2 separate regions of the Homo sapiens genome follow, and region 1 is linked to region 2. Evidence: promoter capture Hi-C in 16 types of primary human blood cells and fetal thymus (Javierre and others, 2016). All regions are on one chromosome and are shown on one strand. The core of a region is centred on a gene start or on the middle of the fragment in contact, and the rest is flanking DNA. Distances in the headings are between cores, read along the strand shown. Region 1 overlaps LOC105372649 (a long non-coding RNA gene). Region 2 holds the start of KCNB1 (potassium voltage-gated channel subfamily B member 1).

Region 1 (5,995 bases), core at 1,321-3,820, 130 kb after region 2:
CCGCCTTGGCCTCCCAAATTGCTGCGATTACAGGCGTGAGCCACCGTGCCCTGCCTCTTGTCTTTTTCTTAGCTGTGTTCCCAGCACCCAGAATAGAGCCTGGCACCAGGAAGGCACTCAGAAAGGGTTTGCTGAATGAGTGCAGGCATTCATTCCACAAATATTTATTAAGGTGCTTAAGAAATCTGTCTCTCTGAGCCAGATCCTAGGGGGACAAAGCTGAAGGAGACACGTAGTCTGTGCTCTAATGGGGTTTATACTCTCATGGGAAAGACAGCCAATAAATAAATAGGCAAATAAGTAAACAAGAAAATACAAACTATTGCTCAGTGTGATGGAGAAAATGAAATGGGTGTGATACAGAGTAACTGGAGAGTGTTTCTCCAGATGGGCAATCAAGGAAGGCCTCCCTGAGGTGCTGTCTGTGAGACAAGCCATGGAAGGAGCTAGCCACGGGATGAGCTAGGAGAACAACCTTTCAGGCAGAGAGCACGGCAAGTGCAAAGGCCCTGAGGCAGGAATGCTCTCAGGAGGCCAGCCAGACTGAAGAAGGATGAGGGAGGAGAGTGGTGGGCAGGAGCAGGGAGGTTAGCAGGGGTCCATCACGCAGCCCCTTGTCAAGCAGGATAAGCAGACTGGAGTTCCCTCTGAGAGAGTGAGCAGCCATTGGGAAGTTTCAGTGGGGGAGGGGTGACAACACCGCCCTTGCATCCAGGAGCTCCCCACACAACGAGAACAGTCCCAGCCTAAATCTGGAGGCATCTGCTTCTCAAGGCAGTGTCTGAGCTCAGCCTGGATGGCTGGGCCTAGGAGCTGCTGCCATCCATCCTTGTCTCTGCCACGTCTCAAGTCAGGCTCGAGTCCCCATTAATATAAATGAGGCCCTTTGCTGACTCGATTTCCAAATGAGTCCAGACATTCAAGCTCTCTATTCCAGGAAATGTGAAATTTATGTAACGAAAATTAAAAGAGAAAGCGGGGAAGCGCCTCCTTAAGTGCCTGCTTCCCGGGTAAGCGAGCCAGTTCTGTGTGTCTGGCAGAAGATGGATGAAGGTGCCATCAAGGGCTGCTGGGAGCCTGTGGCCATCAGGGAGGATGGGAGCAGGGTGGCCGGGGAGCCCCCTGGGTCCCCTTTCTTCCCTCAAAGAGGGAGCCATGGTAGGAATGGAAAACCAACATTATGTTCTCACTCATAAGTGGGAGCTAAGCTATGAGGATGCAAAGGCATAAGAATGATACAATGAACTTTGGGAACTTGCGGGGCAAGGTGGGAAGTGGGTGAGGGATGGAAAGCTATAAATTGGGTTCAGTGTATACTGCTCTGGTGAAGTGTATACCACTCGGGTGATGGGTGCACCAACATTTCACAAATCACCACTAAAGATGTAACCAAATACCACCTACTCCCCAAAAACCTATGAAATTTAAAAAAAAATTTTCTAAAAAAAAAAAAAGAGAGCCATGGTAATAATAGTTTATGTTCATTGCTGCATGTCTAGCCCTGTTCTGAGTACTTTACTTTCATGGATCATCTCACGACAGCATGATGGGGTAAGCACTACCATTTTTCCAGATGGGAAACTGAGGCTCATATTAGAGAAATGACTTGATCAAGGTCACAGAGCAAAACAGTGGCCATAACAGGACTCGGGTCTATGTCACTAATACTCACACAAACCCTCTTGTCCAGAGGTCAGACCATGTGGAATGGCAGAACGGCTCAGGAGTAGAGACCTGGGCTTGAATTCAAGCTCCAACTACCAACCTGCTGTGACCTTGGATAAGTCACCTCCCTCCCTGAGGATCAGTTCTTGTACAATCAGAGCCCCTTCCCCATGGGATTCATCTCTGAATTAAAGGAGATAATGTACAAAGATGCCAAGCACAGGATTTCAGCTTCCCTCTCAAACTGGCTTTTAAAAAGAAAAACAAGTATAAACTCACAGAATTGAAAAATCTTAGGGTAACTGACTTCAGGTGTGGCTGGATCCAGGGGCTTTAAAGATGTCATAAGGGATGAGTTTTTCCTCTCTCTCTCTCTCTCCATGTAGTAGACTCTCACTGGGAATTCCAGGGTTACAGAATTCTCACAGCTAGAAATCCTGATGAAAAGAGAGCTCTTTTTCCCAACAGGGCAGCAAAAATCCCAGGATTCACTCTGATTGAACCAACTTGGGTTAGATACTCGTCCTATAACTAATCTCTGGAGCAAAAGGGATGGAGTATGCTGATTGGGTCGCCTGGATCACACCCCCACCCCTGGAGTCTGAGGGAGGGGTACAGAAAGCCCAGGTGAAACCACTTGGACAGTAAAGGGAAGAGGCTAGGTTCCCTAAAGGAAAACTGGGGTGCTTTTACCAGAAAAATCAGGAGTGGCTGCCAGACCAGCACAAATGCCAGCTTATACTCTTGGCACATAGTAGGCCCTAAGCAAATGTCTGTTCAATGGAATGAGCAAATATCTACCCCCAGAGATGGTGGTAAGGATAAAATAAAATAATGTATGCAGAGTCCCTGGCGCACAGTCAGCACTCAATAAATCTTGTTTTAAAGGAACAAAATGTGTTCAGATTAGGTTTGGATTCTAGTCATGTGCTGATGAGCCCAGATGCTGGAAGGAGCCAGAAGGAGAGGCTTCCCTTGCCTCATCCCTGCCTCCCGCACATTCATTGCCCAACTCCAAGGCAGGGCGAGGACCAGCATTAAGAGAGTGAGGCACTTGCCTCTGATGCAAATGTAAGATGCACCCAAAAACTGAGTAATCAAGAGAAATAATATCTTAATGCAATATTTTTTAAAAATCAATACTGAAGCAAAAGTCCATGAGGAATGAAATATCAACATCTTAAAGACATTCATATATACATATTTGCATATCGTTATATTTAAATATCCGGACACATACACGTGTGAACATTTTCACAGACATTTTACATTGATTTCCTTATATATATGCTCGGGGCCACTGCGCTGCACTACACCAGGGGGTCCCATTTCATGGCAATCAGTGTGAATGTCACTCCCTGAATTGTTCAGGCACAGCCTCTGTGACTGAACACAGCAGCTCTGTACATGAACAAACATGTATGTGCATTGCCACCCATGTGGACAGGCATAACCACCTATATGCCACCAATGTGTGCCACATAACATCACACACACAGACTTGCCAAGAGATATGACTACATGATACAGTCACATACATGCTCATGCTCCTGCCTCAGGGCCTTTGCGCTTACTGTTCCCTCTGCCTGGAATGCTCTTGCAAATAACCTGTGACTCCCTCTTTTACCTTCTTCAAGTTGTACTCAAAGGTTACTCTCTCAGTGAGGCCTTCCCTGACACACTCACATCCCCATGCATCAATTTTTCTAAAATTGCAACAGCTCCCCTGCAGTTGGAATCCTCCAGCCCTGCTTTCTTTTTCTTCTTATTGTCATCTGATATAATATCTATTTTCCTTTTTGTCATATTTAATGTCTATCTATCCCTACTAGAATGTTAGCTCTACTCTGCCAGGGATTTTTGTTTGCTTTGTTCACTGCTGTGGTCTCAGCCTCTAGAACAATACGTGGCATGCAGTAGGTGCTCAATAAGTATTTGTTGAATGAATGACAAAAGCCAGGGAAGTAGGGATCCCTGAGGATGATTGAGACCAAATTTCCCACTACCCCAGCAAGAAGACAACCTAGAGTCAGATGTAGATTGATGTCAAGAATTAAGGCACAATGCAAGGTGCATTGTAAGTGCCGTGAGACTATTATCTCATTTAATCCTCATAACAGTCCTATGAGGTACTACTGTCCACCTTATTTTACATTAGAGGGAACTAAGGCACCGAGAGATTAACTCACTTGCCCAAAATGCCACGGCACAGAAGAGGCAAAGCTGAGATTCAGACCCAGGCAGCTTGGCTCCACACAGCCCAGACACTACACACACACACACACACACACACACACACACACACACACACACACTTAGGTAGCATCACCAGGCCCTCCCAGCCTTCAAGCAACTCTCAGAAATGAGAACTCCCAGCCGGGCATGGTGGCTAATACCTGTAATCCCAGCACTTTGGGAGGCTGAGTTAGTCAGATCACTTGAGGTCAAGAGTTCCAGACCAGCCTGGGCAACATGGTGAAACCCCATCTCTACTACAACTACAAAAATTAGCCGGGCATGGTAGCACACGCCTGTAATCCCAGCTACTCAGGAGGCTGAGGCAGGAGAATCACTTGAACCCGGGAGGCAGAGGTTGCAGTGAGTCGAGATCGCACCACTGCACTCCAGCTTGGGCGACAGAGCGAGACTCCATCTCAAAAAAAAAAAAAAAACCAGAAATGAGAACTGCCTCCCCCCAAGACTGAGTGTTTAGGGTCCCCCCATTTCCCAGCCCCCACTCCATTGTCCCCACTGCTTCCCAGCCAAGAGCAAACCTGCGTCCCTGGTGACGCAGGAAGCTGTAGGCTGTCCGGTTGTCATGGCGACAGCCGCTAGCCCCTGTAAACAGTCTCGCCTCCTGGCTGCCTGGGTGAATCGCTCTCACCACCCTCAGACGCTGTGCTCTGGGCCTTGCTGCACACTTGACCCGTTCTTGGTGGCTGGTCGAGCCAAAGATCCAAATGTCTCTGCTGCTTCCCACCTGGGGGGTTGAGGGGACAGGGGGTGTAGAAGCAGAAAACCTAGGTCCTCATCACCCTTTCTGCCCCTTCTGGGCTGTGCGACCTTGAGGAGTCCCTTCTCTTCTCCATGACTCAGGTCTCTTGTCCCTGCTTTACAGGGTGGTCATGAGGAGTTGATGAATTCTTTTCTTCCTTCCTTCATTCATTCAATAAATAATTATCAAACATCTACCATGTGCCAGGCAATGGCCTAAGTGCTAGGGATATCACAGTGACCAAGGCAGACCTGGTCCTCTGGGAGATACACAACAAACCAGTTCTGGGAAGAAAATAATATAGGCGAATGTGTATGACAGGGGAAAGAAAACAGGGCTACTTTTCTTAGGCGATCAGGAAAAGCCTCCCTGAGGAAGTACCATTTGAGCTAGACCAAAAGGAGAAGATGGCCAAGCAAAGCGATGGGAAAAGAAGTATTCTAGGAAGCAAGTGCAGCGTGTGCAAAGGCCCTGAGGCAGGGATGACTCAGCCTATTTACAGGACAGAAGGCCCTTTTCTCAAAATAATGCTAGGAGGGCGGGCCCAAGGTGTGAACTCTGGTGCTGCAGGTGGAGGGAGAGAAAGTGGACATTGACAACGGCTGCTGTGTGGGACAGCAGAAAGAGACGCTTTCATAGCCAGCTGCCACAGGCGCAGCTTCCAGCTCCCGGAGGGGCAGCCCTCAGACTGGGGGTCTGAGCTTCTGCACCAGGATAAAGCAGAACAGTAGCAATAACAGTGCAACATATTCCAGATGCTTTGCCTATATTAACTAGTTTAATCCTTACTACCCTAAGAGAGAGGTTACTGTGATGATTAACAGAAAAGCTGAACACATACCTGGCTGCAAAGCCCATGATCCCAGCTACCATGCTGGAAGCTCTATAAATGAGCAAAGAGACTCAGTCCAAAGCCTCCAGGAGTGGTGGGGACAGTGGCGGATGTGGCCTGTATAGAGGACTCCAGCTCCAGCCCATGTGGCAGTGTGTGGGAATGCAGACTCACAGTGGCAAGATGTTCTAATTTTCTAAAATAAGCCAGACTGTTGTGTGAACTCTCCTGATTTTAAAACGTTGACTCTATTGTTATTTTAAATATCAGACGGTCAAATAAGACATAGCATCATTCTAGACCTCCAGATGAGACCAGCTGCATAATTTGTGGGGTCCAGTACAAAATGAAAATGCAGGGCCCCTTGTTCAAAAATTAAGAATGTCAAGCCAGCGACAGCAGAACGCTAAACCAAGCTCAGCATTCTTGTGAGTGTGGGGCCCTGTGCAAATGGCTGTGCATGTGCATGATGCCAGCTCTGCCTCAAACGTGGGCACTTCCTA
Region 2 (6,109 bases), core at 63-2,562:
TGCGCGGTCCCTGGCCCCAGGAGGCGGCCGCCCTGGGGGTGAGTGTTGGGGCGTACGGCCTTCCGTGGGGGTGCATGGGGACACGGACAGGGGGTTTGCCTGCCGCAGCTCGGCCTGTTGGTCTGCTCGGGCTCCGCAGCTCCAGGCTGGAGGGGAGCGGGGTGGGAGGCAGGCAAGGGCTGAGGCCTGAGGGGACGCGCAATCCCCATTCTGGGGCTAAGGCGTGAGCCCTACATGCAGGGGGTGCTCAGGGGAACCCCCCGAAATCACTAGTGCGCGGTAGGAGGATGGCACCTTTTGAAAAGGCCAGAAAATTTAGCTCATTTCCCCGCCTCCCACCTCCCCCACCCCTTCCCTTCCAAGCCCGGGGAAAGGCGCAGAACCCGGAGTTATAAAAAGCCATCGCGGGAGAGGAACGAGGAGGAGGAGTAGGAGGAGGAGGAGGAGGAGGAGGAAGAGGAGGAGGAGGGGGAGAAGGAAGAGGAGGGGGAGGAGAAGGAGGAGAAGGGGGCGGGGAAGGAGCGAGGGGAGGACGGAGCAGGCGGATCCCGAGGACTCTGCCCGCCCCTCCTGCGGTAGGGTTGGGGGCTCAGAGGGAGAGGCGAGAGCGGGCTTTTCCTCCTCGCGGCTCACCTTGTCGCTGGAGCAATCTCAGGAGATGCTCCAGTGTTTGGGAAGAGGGGTCGCTCCAGGACAGAGGGGCTGTTGTGCACACCCCGTCTGTTGTGACCTCGGACAGGTGGGCACCTGGAACCCCCGGAATTCCCCCAAATCTTTTAAGATTTGGAAAAAAGCCCGCTGCCATTCCCCCACCCCCAAAATCTTGATTATCTCGAGAAGGGGAAGGAAAAGAAGAGAACTCGTTAAAAAAAAAAAAAAGAAGGAAAGAAGAAGAAGAAAGAAAGAAAAAGATAAAGAAAGAAAGTTTTCATGCAGCTCCCCCTCTCTCCCCATGGCGGGGCCAGGTTCGGGACTCGATCGGGAGACCCATAATGAAGAGAGTTTCAGCACTCTAAGGGGCGGACAGCGCCCCGGGCGGCTGGGTCGCGCCTGGGCCGCAGAAGCCCAGGGTGGGGCCTCCCGGGCTCCAGGGGCATCTCTTGGGGCCCTCTCCCCGCCCCGAGGGGCGGCCCCTCCCTCCATCCATGGGGTGCGGCGGACTTCAGCACCGGCGGGAGGGACAGCGACCATCCGTCCTACCCCACTGAGCCGCTTAAGCGCGGGGGAAGGTCAAGGCCGGCTGGGAGCCTGGTGGAGAGGTGGGGGGCGGGGGGACAGCATGCCCAGCTCCCCGTTTGCTGACCCGCGTCCGCTTTCGCTTTCTGCCTCGCAGCCGTCGGGATGGAGGTGAGAAGACGGCCGTGACGCGCGCCCGCGGGGCCCCCTGCACCCCCAGCAGCCCACAGCGCTCCCTGCCCCCCTCCCCCGCAGCAGCGGGCCTTGCCGTCGAGTGACAGCGGCCTGGGGGGGCAGGGGGGGCGGGGGCGGCCGGATCAGCGATGCCGGCGGGCATGACGAAGCATGGCTCCCGCTCCACCAGCTCGCTGCCGCCCGAGCCCATGGAGATCGTGCGCAGCAAGGCGTGCTCTCGGCGGGTCCGCCTCAACGTCGGGGGGCTGGCGCACGAGGTACTCTGGCGTACCCTGGACCGCCTGCCCCGCACGCGGCTGGGCAAGCTCCGCGACTGCAACACGCACGACTCGCTGCTCGAGGTGTGCGATGACTACAGCCTCGACGACAACGAGTACTTCTTTGACCGCCACCCGGGCGCCTTCACCTCCATCCTCAACTTCTACCGCACTGGGCGACTGCACATGATGGAGGAGATGTGCGCGCTCAGCTTCAGCCAAGAGCTCGACTACTGGGGCATCGACGAGATCTACCTGGAGTCCTGCTGCCAGGCCCGCTACCACCAGAAGAAAGAGCAGATGAACGAGGAGCTCAAGCGTGAGGCCGAGACCCTACGGGAGCGGGAAGGCGAGGAGTTCGATAACACGTGCTGCGCAGAGAAGAGGAAAAAACTCTGGGACCTACTGGAGAAGCCCAATTCCTCTGTGGCTGCCAAGGTGAGTCTGGGATCTGGGGGCTGCTGGTCTGGGGGGATCTGCTTGCATCCCCATATTGAGGACCACTGCTGGAGGACTCTGGCTTTGTTCCCAACGATGAAGATTAGTAATGGGGAGGGGCTAGGACTGAGTCCCCAGAGGTGAGGACCAACCCCCTCAGACTTTTCCCATGTGGCACTGGTCACTCCATCTTTTTATTATCCAAGACGTTATACCCCTACTTGGTTGGAGAGGTTTCACAGGGACCCATAAAAAGCCACAGCAAGAAGATGGACACTGACGAATAAGAGAGAGAGCACAGAGAGACAACAGTGGCTTGCTGGGGTGGAGTAGGGTTTGCTTCCCTGTGAAGTCCCAGACCTAGGCTGGATTGGATCACCCTGTGATTTTAATATCTCCATATTTATAACCTCACTCTGCCCCAGCAAGGGAAAAAAGCAGCTTACAGACATGCTTACAGGACATTGAGATACTGTCAGATAGTTTAAACATAAGTAAGAAGGGACCCCGAGGGGTGGGTGTGGACCCACACGACACATGCAGTTGGTTGTGGATGCTTGCGGGTGAGGGGTCACCCCCTGGTTACTTATTTATTTGGTGAGTTTATTTCCAGAATGGTTTGGTGCAGCTTGTAAAGATGTTTCAGCTCTTGGAACAAGATGTAAATTTCAAAATAGGAGAGAAAAATGAGGCAATGTGAAAAATAAAGGAGGAGGAGGAGGAGGAGGCAGGAATGAGTTTGAACACAAAGAGTGGGCCAGAGAGTCTTTGGTGCTGCTGGGTAATGGCAGGGGCTGTAGGGGACTGAGGAAGGCTTGGGGTGGGAGCCAAGGCAGGGCAGGAGGGCACTGGTTGATCAGCAACTTCTCTACGTCAGGCTGGGATTTGGGGTTGCCTGGGAAAGATGGGGCCTGTCTTCATGTGCCCGAAGTGCTGGGTGCTGGGAGCAAATGACAAAACAGTGTGTGCAAGGCTATAAAAGAGGTTCTGTGAGGTTCACGGAGAACCCAGAAAAGAGAGATGTTGATGTTGAAATCCAGCAAGACCAACTTGGGAAACATGGGGAGAATGTAACTGAGTGTGGGGCCTAAAAAAAGGGGTCAGGTAAGTAGATTTGTGGTAAAAGAAAGAGGAGAGGAGGAAGCCTAAATATCCAGCCATATCTTACTAGCTAGGGCTGACTCCTGTCCAGCCCAGCCTTTCATTGTGGGGTCTCCGGCTCAGTTCTCACTGAAGGCCCACCTGCAGGTCCCAGTCTGAAGGGAGACTCCGTGGGGTCCTTCCTCCAGATCTAGCCACCCAAGGAGAGGCCCCTGAGAGTGGATGGAGAAGGGGTGGCTGGTAAGAGGGTGGAGGGAGCCCCCACGTGTTTTTTTCGTTTCCCTGTTGGCCCTAACAAGGATGTAGAGGCTCCTGGGCCTGGCTTCCTCCTCTGAGGCTGTGGGCTGTCTCTCTCCATAATCCCGCCCCCAATTTTGTGTCCAAAAAGCCTCCTCCTAAGACAGAGTCACTCACCCTTAATCAGCTTAGGATCAACAGACTTATTTTGCTATTTCCAGGCATGACACAGGTTCTCCCACTGCACATCCCATTTAGGCCCAAATGTGACTCTCCCTCCCTGTCCCATCCCTAAGACATGAGAACAAGGTACAGGGAACTGGACAATTTGCCCTCCCAGAGAAGAAGCAGGCACAGGGCCATGTTTTGGTCTGGCAGCAAGACCCAAGCACCGGGGCTTGCAAGAGGTGCTGTTTGGGAATAAAGAACCTCTCCTCTCCCTTGGGTTAATCCGCTAGCAGGGACAGCCTTGTGACCTCTCCATGATCCCAGTCTGGGGCTGCCAGCTCACATTCCTGGCAGATGGACCATCTAGGATTTTCTGTAGCCAGAGCTGAAATGGGGAGGGAGGCAGGCTCACTGGCCCTCAGAATAGAAATCCTGGCTGCCAATGATCAAACACCTACTGTGTATGGAGTGTAACAACGCAGCTCTGTTATTATCCCACCTTTCGCAAACAGTGAGGCTGAAAGAGGTTAAGTAACTTGCCTAAGGTCACACCACAGGCAGTCAGGAGTAGCCAGAAATCCAAACCGAGTGTTCTTTCTATAATGATCAAGTGCCGCAGCCTCCTCCCCAGTCTCCCGGCTTCCACTTTTGCCCCTGCAATCCATTCCCCACATAGCAGCCAAAGTGAGCTTTTCAAAATGTAAATTGGATCACATTATTCATCTGCTTAAAATCCTCCAGAAGTTTCCCATCACACTCAAAATAAAATTCAGACTTTTCATCCTGGCATACAAGGCCCAGGCAGAATCTGGCCCCCATGACCTCTCTGGGCTCATCTCTTTTGATCTCCTCTGGTTCACTTGGCTCCAGCCCCACTGGCCTTGCTGTTCCATAAACAGGCCAGAGTTTATCTGACCTCAGGACCCTTGCACTTGCTGTTTCCGCTGCCTGGAATGCTCTTCCCCAGATTCCCCCTTGGCCAGCCCCTTCTCCCCCTTCCTCATTTGAGCAGGTCCCTGCTCACATGTCCCCTCCTCATACAGACCTTCCTTGACCGCTGTTCTAAACAGTTTCCCTCCCCTCACTCTCTGTTGCATCATGCAATGCCTTTCCTGCAGAGGCCTTAAACGCCATCTGAAATTATATTTCCTTCTTTGTGTGTCTCTGTTTCACACCCACAAGAATGTGAGTACCATGAGTTGATTCACTGCTTGATTCCCAGCACCCATGATGGTGCCTGGCACTGAGGAGCATGTGGAATGAATAAATGAATGAATGAACGAATGAATGAATGAACGAATGAATGAATCAAGCAAGCAAGCAAGCAGTCAGTCACTGTGTCTCAGGGTTTGGGGACCTGTCACCCCTTCTCACTGCCCACCTGCAACCCAGGTCCCTGTGCCTCTGGCCTCCTTTGAGTCATCTGCACCTTGCCCATCCCATCCCCACCCATCCCCCCAGCTTGGATGCCTTGCTTGTCAAAACAAGCAAAGCCTGTGGAAATTGCTTAGAACTCACAGAGTGACAGGACCAAATGGAGGATCATTTCTAGGTGATTGTAAGATACAAAAGTGGCCATATCTCATATGCTGAAGAGCAAGGATGGATCTGGTTCTGTGCCACTCCCCACTTCCATAGCTTTTAGCTAATTTCTCCAACTTTCCAAGTCCCAACCTTCCACCTGTAAAATGGAGATAAAAGGCTCACCTTACAGGGTCTTCATTAAATCACATTTGTCAAAATTTTGCTCAAAGCCTAGCACATAGCAGGTGGGGATTGTTGTTATAAATGCTAAGGAAAAGAGTCTTTTTTCTAGGGCTGGGTGGGCCGAGTTGCTGCAAACCCTTTCCTTCTGAGAGCAGCAGGGCCAGGGAGACTGAGCTGACACTGTTAATAATTGATGGGATGTTCTGGCAACTCGGAGACAAACCAAAGCACAGGCCCTAGGCTTTGCCATCAGGGGAGCGAAAATCAAAACCCATTAGGCAAAAGGCAGTGTGATTGATTCTTGTTTAGAAGATGGGGACAGCCCCATTGGTGTGACAGGGTTGCGGTGCTGGGGCTACCACGGGGCTTTGGCTTTCTCGGAAAACTCGACAGGCTTTTCTCAGTAGGAGAGACAGGGAACTGATTTGCCAGCCCAGGAGTGTCTGTGATCCCTGGGATAGTCTCAGGATTAAAGCCCTGAGATAACTTCCTAATTTCCAGGGTAGCTTATGTTTGTTGTGCCCAGCACTGATTAGTGGTGCTTCATATCTGCTATCTCATTGAAATTCCTCCAACAGGGATACAACCAGGTAGTATGCCAGTTAGGGATGCTTTGGGCTGCAAGCAGCAGAATAGAAAACTCAAAGTAGCTTCAATAAGGAGGAAGATGCATCATTGAATATAATATGAAGTTCCAAGGCAGTTGGTTTTAGGTTGAGTTAATGGCTCAATGATGCCACCAGGATTCTAGATTCTTTTCATCTCTCTGCTCCTCTGCTCCCCAACCCCTGCAAGTGGCTTGGTCCTCATGCTTGATGCTTCATATCACA

What was found. Contacts are between HindIII fragments. The CHiCAGO score rates a contact against its expected background, and 5 or more counts as called.
Region 1: a fragment that was not itself captured here is called in contact with the fragment with the promoter of KCNB1 in region 2 in 6 of 17 cell types (M2 macrophages, endothelial precursors, M1 macrophages and 3 more); the score reaches 12.4 in M2 macrophages.

Annotation. Positions count from the first base shown.
Region 1 is chr20:49,346,509-49,352,503 of GRCh38, reverse strand. All of the region lies in intron 2 of LOC105372649 (a long non-coding RNA gene), which reads right to left. Among named protein-coding and RNA genes, the nearest start is that of SNORD12, 69 kb to the right of the region's middle. The HindIII fragment of the contact is 8,591 bases long and covers 1-5,995 here.
Region 2 is chr20:49,477,871-49,483,979 of GRCh38, reverse strand. It overlaps KCNB1 (potassium voltage-gated channel subfamily B member 1), which reads left to right and starts at 1,312. Exons shown (of 2, transcript NM_004975.4): 1 at 1,312-2,066. The coding sequence starts at 1,500. The HindIII fragment of the contact is 15,223 bases long and covers 1-6,109 here.